Linked DNA regions of Homo sapiens: regions 1 and 2 are each linked to region 3. The links are contacts of gene promoters, found by promoter capture Hi-C in blood cells and fetal thymus (Javierre and others, 2016). All regions are on one chromosome and are shown on one strand. The core of a region is centred on a gene start or on the middle of the fragment in contact, and the rest is flanking DNA. Distances in the headings are between cores, read along the strand shown. Region 1 holds the start of COPS3 (COP9 signalosome subunit 3). Region 2 holds the start of FLCN (folliculin). Region 3 overlaps PEMT (phosphatidylethanolamine N-methyltransferase).

Region 1 (2,700 bases), core at 98-2,597, 310 kb after region 3:
AAACCAAAAGTATCTGAGACCAGTCTCAATCGAGAAAGTTTATATTGCCAAGGTGAAGGATGCGATGATAACACGGCCTCAGGAGCTCCTCAGGACATGTGCCCAAGGTGCGGGTACAGTTTGGTTTTATACATTTTAGGGAGACATGAGTCATCGATCAATACATGTAAGATGTACGTTGGTTAGGATCGGAAAGACGGGCTAACTCGGGGCAGTGGGGGGCTTCTACCTTATAGGTAGACTTAAAGATTTTTTGATTGGTAATTGGTTGAAAGAGTTATTATCTAAAGACCTGGAAGTAAATAGAAAGAAATATCTGGGTTATGATTATAAGGGGTTGTGGAGACCAAGGTTTTATCATGCAGATGAGGCTTCCAGGTAGCCTGCTATTCAGACAGAATAGATTGTAAATATTTCTTATCAGTCTTGAGTCTACCAGTCTTAAGGTCTCTGTGTTGATGTTTGTGAGGCATGTCTGACTACCACTTCCCATCATGGCCTGAACTAGTTTTTCAGGATAAATTGGAATGTCCTTGGCTTCAGATAGGGTCCACCAGTCAGTTGGGGGGCTTAGACTTTTATTTTTGGTTTACAGATATCACATGGACTATAGAGACACATTTCTGTAACAGAGTAGAAGTGCAACATGAGAAGAACAAAGTGCTTTAGGCGACAAGCGGAGGAGGGAGACATCAATCCCAGATGGGAAAAATCAATTCACTTTCTGTGTGTGGTGTTACTTATTTATTTATTTTTTGCAGGGAAGGGATCGATTCATTCAACGTACACCTTGAATGAATAACTATAGTTCTCCCTACGTCCTATGCACTGTCCTAAGTGTTTTACGTGGTTAAGGACACTAAGATTTTACAGATGGGGAAAACAATGCACACGACAGTCAAGTGACCCGCTCAACGTCACACAGCTACTAAGTGGTAGAAAAGGCAGTTGAACCCAGGCTGCTTGGCTCCAGAGTCTAATATCACGGGGAAAACCTCACGGGAGACGTGGCAACGAAGTTGTGCTTCATTGAAGTATCTGTCCAGGTGGAAAACCGCAGGGCCTCTCTAGCAAAATCCAGAACCAGAAAATACTTGCTTAATTATGAGTTTCCTTCCTTCTTTTGCCCACTATCCCCATTTAACCTGCGGAGGGATTTCAGAAGTGCAGTGAATAAAGATGCAGGGGACTATGGAACACTAATTTCCGGCTACGGCGAATTCAGGCTGTTTCCATGGAAACAGTAACGGGTGGGCAGCTAGGTATAGTCTCGCGGTGCTTGAACCAGCGGAAGTGACGTCGCCGCTCGCGAGGACCTCAGGTGGATCGCCGCGGCCCCTCCTCCCAGAGCGGCAGCCTTTTCCCGCGCGTGCTGCCTTCGCCGCTCGGGCCGCCCGGGGGAAAACATGGCGTCTGCCCTGGAGCAGTTCGTGAACAGTGTCCGACAGCTCTCAGCTCAAGGTAACGCCCTAGGCCGCCGGGCTGGGCATGGGCGGGTACCGGGAACTGGCCTGGATCCCCAGGCGCCAGCACGGACGGCTGGAACAGCCCTTTTAGTCCTGAGACTCTTCTCCGGGGCCGGGCTTGGGGTTGCGGCGTTTAGATCAGGGCAGGATCGAGCGCGGCCGAGTGTAGGCAGCCCCCTCGCGCTCCGCTGTCCTCGCCGGCCGGCCTCCCCTCCCTCGGGCCGCCGGGAGCCCCCTCCCCCCGGCCTGGGCCCCTTCCACCGGGCGCTTTGCTTGACAGTTTGGGGGCGTGACTTCCGCCAGGAGCCATCTCGGGCGACTATTGGTTCCTTCTGTCTCTCTTGCCTTCGGTGATTGGCGCACCGCCATGTCATCTTTGCCGCCGATCCGCAGCTTGCTGACTAGGCCGCCGGGAGCGGGCGGGAGGCGAGTCCGTTCTGGGTGTCTTGGCTCTATGGCTCGCCTCTGCCAGCTCCTCCGCTGCCAGGCGGCGCACGCTCGGGAACCTGTGCGCCTATTTTGGTCCTACAGAATGCTGCGGAAGCTCTCGCTCGTAGGACTCCATTTCTTCTTCTTTGTTTTTTTTTAGCCGAGGCTGGAGTGCAGTGGCGCGATCTCGGCTCACTGCAACCTCAGCCTCCCGGCTTCAAGCGATTCTCCTGTCTCAGCCTCCCGAGTAGCTGAGATTACAGGCGCCCGCCAGCTCACACGGCTTTTTTTTTTTTTGAGACGGAGTCTCACTGTCTCCCAGGCTGGAGTGCAGTGGCGCGGTCTCGGCTCACCTCAACCTTCGCCTTCGAGGTTCAAGCGATTCTCCTGTCTCAGCCTCCCGAGTAGCTGGGATTACAGGCGCCTGCCCGGCTAATTTTTGTATTTTTAGTAGAGACAGGGTTTCACCATGTTGGCCTGGCTGGTCTCGAACCTTGATCTCAGGTGATCCACTGGCCTCGGCCTCCCAAAGTGCTGGGATTACAGGCATGAGCCACCGCGGCCAGCCCACGCGGCTAATTTTTTCGTATTTTTAATAGAGATGGGGTTTTTACCATGTTGGCCAAGCTGGTTTCGAACTCCTCACCTGAAGTGATCCGCCCACCTCGGCCTCCCAAAGTGCTAGGATTACAGGCGTGAGCCACTGCGCCCGGCCAGGACTCCATTTCTAGGGGTAGAATTGTGATGATTTTACTCGCACTTTCCAGGTTGTTTGGTTCATTCATTGCGTATGAATGTACCGAAT
Region 2 (2,700 bases), core at 34-2,533, 350 kb after region 3:
ATGGAAATTTAAAGAGAAAAAAATAAGTGACTTCTGATTTCAAAAACACAACCACCCACTTTTCTATTCTATTCCTGGTGAGCACATTCTGGAGACTCTGCGGCAACCATAGCCTCGGCCGCGGCGGAAGGCTCCGGGGCGGCCACACCTCAGGGGGCAGCCACACCTCAGGGGGCAGCGCGCACAGGCGGGTCAGGCTCTGATTCCCATCTCTCTCCGGTCTTCACTGGAAGGACCCACACTACATCACAAACTAATGGCTTTACAATTAACTTCTAAGTAGCTAAATTTAGTAATGGGCGCTCTAGTTTTAAAAAATATTATTCAGGCCGGGCGCGGTGGCTCACGCCTGTAATCCCAGCACTTTGGGAGGCCGAGGCTGGTGGATCACCTGAGGTTAGGAGTTCAAGACCAGCCTGGCCAAAAGGGTGAAAACCCGTCTCTGCAAAAATACAAAAAATTAGCCAGGCGTGGTGGCGGACGCCTGTAGTCCCCAGCTACTCGGGAGGCTGAGGCAGGAGAATCGCTTGAACCCGGGAAGCGGAGGTTGCAGTAAGGCGAGGTCGCGCCACTGGACTCCAGCCTGGGCAACAAGAGCGAAAGCGAAACTCTGTCTCAAAAAAAGAATATTATTCAAAAACTGATTTTCACATTTTTAAAAAAGACCCACTGAGGGAGGAAGACCGAATCCCACACATGCGCGCGCACAGCGGTTCCGAGTTCTGCAACCAACCTCCCACGGGCGCCGCGCCTTCTCCGCGTCACGTGACGGCCGTCTCCCGCACCTTCCATACTCTCAATGTAGGGAGAGGACGGGTTCCATCAGCAATTTAATAAAAACCATTGGTGAAGCAAAAAAAAAAAGCCTGCCAACCTCTTATAACGTTTTTTCTTTATTTTTCTCTTTTATGTGGACAGGAAGCCTTAGGTTGGCTATATTTACCCTCAAATCTCTTTTTAAAATGATTTTTAAGTTTCAGCATACTCCCGCGCTTAATGAAATGGTTTCCCCCAGCATCCCCAGCTGGTGCGGTCTGAACCATTCGGAACTTCCCAGAGGGGGGCACCGGAATAGGGGCGGTGGAAAAGGGTAATTGTCGGGCAGCGGCCCCTGCTTCCCAGTCAGACCTCGGAGTTGTAGGACTCGGACTGTGTTCCTGGGCTTGCGAGAGCTAGGGAGGCCCGGCTCTCCTCGCGGTGCAGGACGCGCTCGGACGGCTCCCGCACCCCCACCGCAGTGTTGGGTGGTGGTACGGCTCAGGGAGTCACGCGCCTGGGTGTCGGCGGGGCTGCGGGACCGCGAGTGAGTGTGGTCGCTCCTGGTTCTGCCAGCTCCCCTGAGAGCCTGAACCCGGGCTTGAGAGCCTCGCCACCCCGGGTGACATCCCTGCCGTGGGCTTGGGGGCTCTGGGTGTGATTCCGCCGGTCCGGGTCCCGCAGCGACCACCTACCCAGCGCAGTCAGGGGCGGGGCTGGGACCCAGAGCGGGACCCCGGCTGCCGAGTCCAGGTGTCCCGCGGGCCTCGATTTGGGGAGCAGGTAGGCGGGGGTCTGAGGGGTTGGCGGAGGGGCATGTCCGAGTTTTCGTTGGTCCCAGGTGGACGAGTAATGGGGGAGGGTTTAGGGCCAGAGTCCAGGGCGTCGCCGAGACCCTGAGATTTGAAGATAGGTTGGGGGCACGCCCATTAACCAAGTCTATGGGGATGAGGACTGTGATCTCATTTGATGTTGCCATGAAACGGGACTGTTTGCCTTCCCTTCTCCCAGGTTTTGTCTTCGCTCTGTTTGGAGGAGAGGGTGTGTGTCATCCTCTTCTCCCAGTTTGGCGTTCAGGAGGGTCCTCTGATGCGCTAATAGGGTAGCACCGTGTCCTCCAGGGAGGGTGGAAGACCGCGCTTCTCTCCAGTTGAGAGTACTGTCAGTCGCGTCCTTGTCTCCTGGAAAGAATGGATTGGCTTGTGGATTGAAGTCCAAGGTGTGGTCACTAGCAGTCTCTTCAAGTGGGGACACAGGGCAAGGAGGAGCTTGCTGGAAGTAGGTTCTGGCTCTCTAGCCTTTGGCCACAGCCAGTTTAGTGCCAGATTATCACCGTGGTCATCAAGTAATTGAGTAATAGTGGCAGGTGACACTGCGTTTGCCCTTCTAGTGTCCTATGTCAGGGAGCTCTGTGAATGGAAATCCAGGGAAACGGTGGAAATAGAGCCACAGTGAGAGTGGATCTGAACTGGCAGTCATCCCCTGCAGAACTTTTCACCCTGGGCTTGTTGGGATCCCAGCTGCTAACTTAATGAGGCTCCCCAGTGGGAGACTAGTTATAGAAGCTGTGTGTCCACTGCTGGTTAAGATCCGTTATAGTGCTTTGTTTATTTAGAGTGCCCTTACTTAGTGGCCTCTTTAATTCTCCACGGTGCTATGAGAACACCATAGGAAGTAGGGTTGAAATAGGGCCAGGGCGCACCACGGGTGGTGGTGAGGTCACTGTCCAGGTCTGGGACTCAGCCATTGTGGGAGGGGGACATGAACAGACACTCTACCACATCAGGGAATTTGAATACTGTCTTTGGATATGTTGATGAAGAGACTGTCAGCCAGGGCATTTCGGCTTCCTATGTGGGTTCTGGAAAGCTTGTTGGAAACAGACTCGTGAGACACACTCAAACCAGTTTGTTTTCTTCAGCAAACACCTGGTAGAGATTGGAA
Region 3 (2,700 bases), core at 8-2,507:
ATATTGATTTTAGACAGGTACTGACCGCACCGGACCGCCGCGGAAACTGGGAGAGGGATCTGCAAGGCCCGAGGGGCGTGAAGGCTTGCGGCGCCTCAAACGCTGCGGGGCGGGGCCGCCAGTTCCCAGGCAATGGGGGCGTGGCGTGGCGGGGGTGGGGGAGCCGCGTGCGGGAGCGCCGGCTGGTGTCTGTGTGTGTGCGTGTGCGCGCGCGTGTAAACCTCAGATTGCGTGTGTCAGAGACGGGGGCGTTCCTGAGCTCGTCTGATTGTGTGCCTGTGTGTGGCCCTGAGATTGTGTGAGACTCAGAGGTTGTCCGTGTTAGTCTTTGGGATTGTGTCTCACTGAAATTATGTGATGCTCTGAGAGTGTGCCGGAGAGTGAGTGTGAGTGTGTATGACCGAGGCTGTGTGTGACTGAGCGTGGGCGAGGGTGAAGGAGGCCGATTATATGTTTGGGAGTGTGTTGTGTGGCCCCTGCTCCCGTCCATCCCCCAGGGTCAGGAGGCCAGCTTTTGCCCAGAGGCAAGAGAGTGGTGGGGACCCTGCCTGTCTCCCAGCCGGCCCTGGGCAGGCTGCAGACCACCACCCAGCCGTTTCGGGGCCATAATGGGTGCGACCGGCCCCAGAAGCTGGGGGCCTGGCTTGCCTGCTGAGGCTGCCCTCTGCAGAGTCCTAGGCCAGAGAGTGCCTGTCCTGGCATCTCCCCAGGCTCCCAATTCCAATGGATTCCAATTTCCAACCTCTCTTGCATTCTCCCTTCTATCAAAGCTTCCTCTTAGATGCTCCATTTACCTTTTTCATCACCCACTCTTCATGAAGCCTGTAAGGCACATCTCTGCCCCAAGCAGCTTCTAATCCAGTTCTTTCGCTCCCTTCATTCCTTACTCACATGTGCATTTATTCACTCACTGATCCAGCCAGTATTGATTCAGGGCCGGCTGAGGGCCTCGTGTCACTCAGAAGTTTAAGGGCACTTCTGTCACTGAGCTTTCATTCTAGGGAGGGAGATTGTAGGCCTGGAAAGCCAGAGAGTTCTCTGAAGGAGCTAATACCAGTTAGTGTTTTGAAGAGTAGCTGATGGGAAGGCGGGATTGAAATCCCAAGAGAGCCTGTTGCCGTATCTGCGAGGGAGGGACCTGGGATCTGAGAGCCGAAAGGTCAGTCAGTGGGGCAAGATTCCCCAGAGGAGGGAGGCAGTTGCGAAGCCCTCCAGGAGGCACAGGAGGAGATGGGCCGCTGGCCCTGAGGGAGCGCAGGACCGTTGGCCAGATGGGTGCTCAGCAGAGGACAGGAAGAAGACTATTACTTTAGTAAACTGTCCATTGAATTACAACATGCAGTCAGATGAGTGATGGGTCCTACCCCTACAGCTCCTGCATTTTCACCAGGTGAACCTGTATCTGTTAATCCTCAGATCAAGATGGGGGGTCATGATCACCTCCAGGGGCTGCCCTCAGAAGCCACCGTGTAGAAGGGTGGGTGGGGGAGCCATGTAGAAGGGGGGGCAGAATGCAAGGGGGCAGTGTCCCTTTGCAGACCCATCTAGGGGCCTGCCCCAGGGCCTGCCAGTGGGCAGGGGAGACTAACCGGGTGTGTGAGGGGTGGGCTTCTCTGCTCTTTCTCCTTTCTCCCCAGGGCTGTGCAGCTGGAGAGAGCTGGGGCTGGGGTTCGGGTCAGGGTGACCCTTGTTGACTAACATTCTGCTTTTCTTCTGCTGTCCTTGTTGGTGCAGTTAAGCTTCCTGTTGCCAAGGGATTTTTCTTAAAGAAAGAAAGAAAGAAACATACAACATACAACATTACATATTTGCTTATGTGGTAGCTCTACTCCCTCCTCAATCAAAATCTCCGGTTTTAAAATATGTCAGTCCCTGGCCTGGGAGAGTTGCAAGGTTTTTGTTCACCCCATGGGCGTCTGAGCTGCAGGATCTCCGGTGCTAGCCCTGTGCTGCTGTGCTGTCCAGTAGAAACATCGTGTGCCACATGCATAATTTAAACCTTTCTAGTAGCCATGTTAAATTAGTGAGAAGAAATGGAAAATAGCAAAGAAATAGAAAAATAATTTTGACAATATATTTTATTGTTACCAAAATATATATCAGACATATTTTGTCCTGTGGCATTCCAAGCTTGTGGCACTGCCTGTGACCAGTGGCTGCCATGTCATACCAAACAGTGCTGCTCTGGGTACCATGCCCTCCACCAGCTCTTTTCTGGGCCTGCTTCAGCAGGTACAGAATCTTGCTTTTGTTTTTAAAAAAAAAAAAAAAAAAATCAGCTGTTGGGGCTGGGCACGGTGGCTCACGCCTGTAATCCCAGCACTCTGGGAGGCCAAAGCAGGTGGATCACCTGAGGTCGGGAGTTTGAGACCAGCCTGACCAACATGGAGAAATCCCATCTCTACTAAAAATATAAAAAGTTAGCCAGGCGTGGCGGCACATGCCTGTAATCCCAGCTACTCGGGAGGCTGAGGCAGGAGAATCACTTGAACCCCGTAGGTGGAGGTTGCAGTGAGCTGATATCACGCCATTGCACTCCAGCCTGGGCTAGAAGAGCGAAACTCTGTCTCAAAACAAAAACAAACAACCCAAAGAATCAGCCATTGGGCTGAGGAGTTAGGGTGAGGAGTGTGCCCGCTGCAGCCCCACTGACTAAGGCCCTTTTGCTCCTTGTTGCCCTCCCTGTCAGGATTCTGGAGC

The links. The method cuts DNA at HindIII sites, captures the fragments that hold promoters and counts their contacts. A CHiCAGO score of 5 or more calls a contact.
Region 1: the fragment with the promoter of COPS3 here is called in contact with a fragment that was not itself captured in region 3 in 1 of 17 cell types (erythroblasts); the score reaches 5.4 in erythroblasts.
Region 2: the fragment with the promoter of FLCN here is called in contact with a fragment that was not itself captured in region 3 in 1 of 17 cell types (fetal thymus); the score reaches 5.3 in fetal thymus.

Annotation. Positions count from the first base shown.
Region 1 is chr17:17,279,893-17,282,592 of GRCh38, reverse strand. COPS3 (COP9 signalosome subunit 3) reads left to right here and starts at 1,347. Exons shown (of 12, transcript NM_003653.4): 1 at 1,347-1,461. The coding sequence starts at 1,407. RefSeq lists enhancers at 1,150-1,249, 1,900-1,959 and a silencer at 1,470-1,709. The HindIII fragment of the contact is 7,073 bases long and covers 1-2,700 here.
Region 2 is chr17:17,235,751-17,238,450 of GRCh38, reverse strand. It overlaps FLCN (folliculin), which reads left to right and starts at 1,283. Exons shown (of 14, transcript NM_144997.7): 1 at 1,283-1,539. RefSeq lists a silencer at 337-522 and an enhancer at 957-1,066. The HindIII fragment of the contact is 3,806 bases long and covers 1-2,627 here.
Region 3 is chr17:17,588,848-17,591,547 of GRCh38, reverse strand. PEMT (phosphatidylethanolamine N-methyltransferase) reads left to right here. Exons shown (of 7, transcript NM_148172.3): 1 at 1-17. Among named protein-coding and RNA genes, the nearest start is that of PEMT, 1.5 kb to the left of the region's middle. RefSeq lists enhancers at 1-88, 1-395. The HindIII fragment of the contact is 969 bases long and covers 773-1,741 here.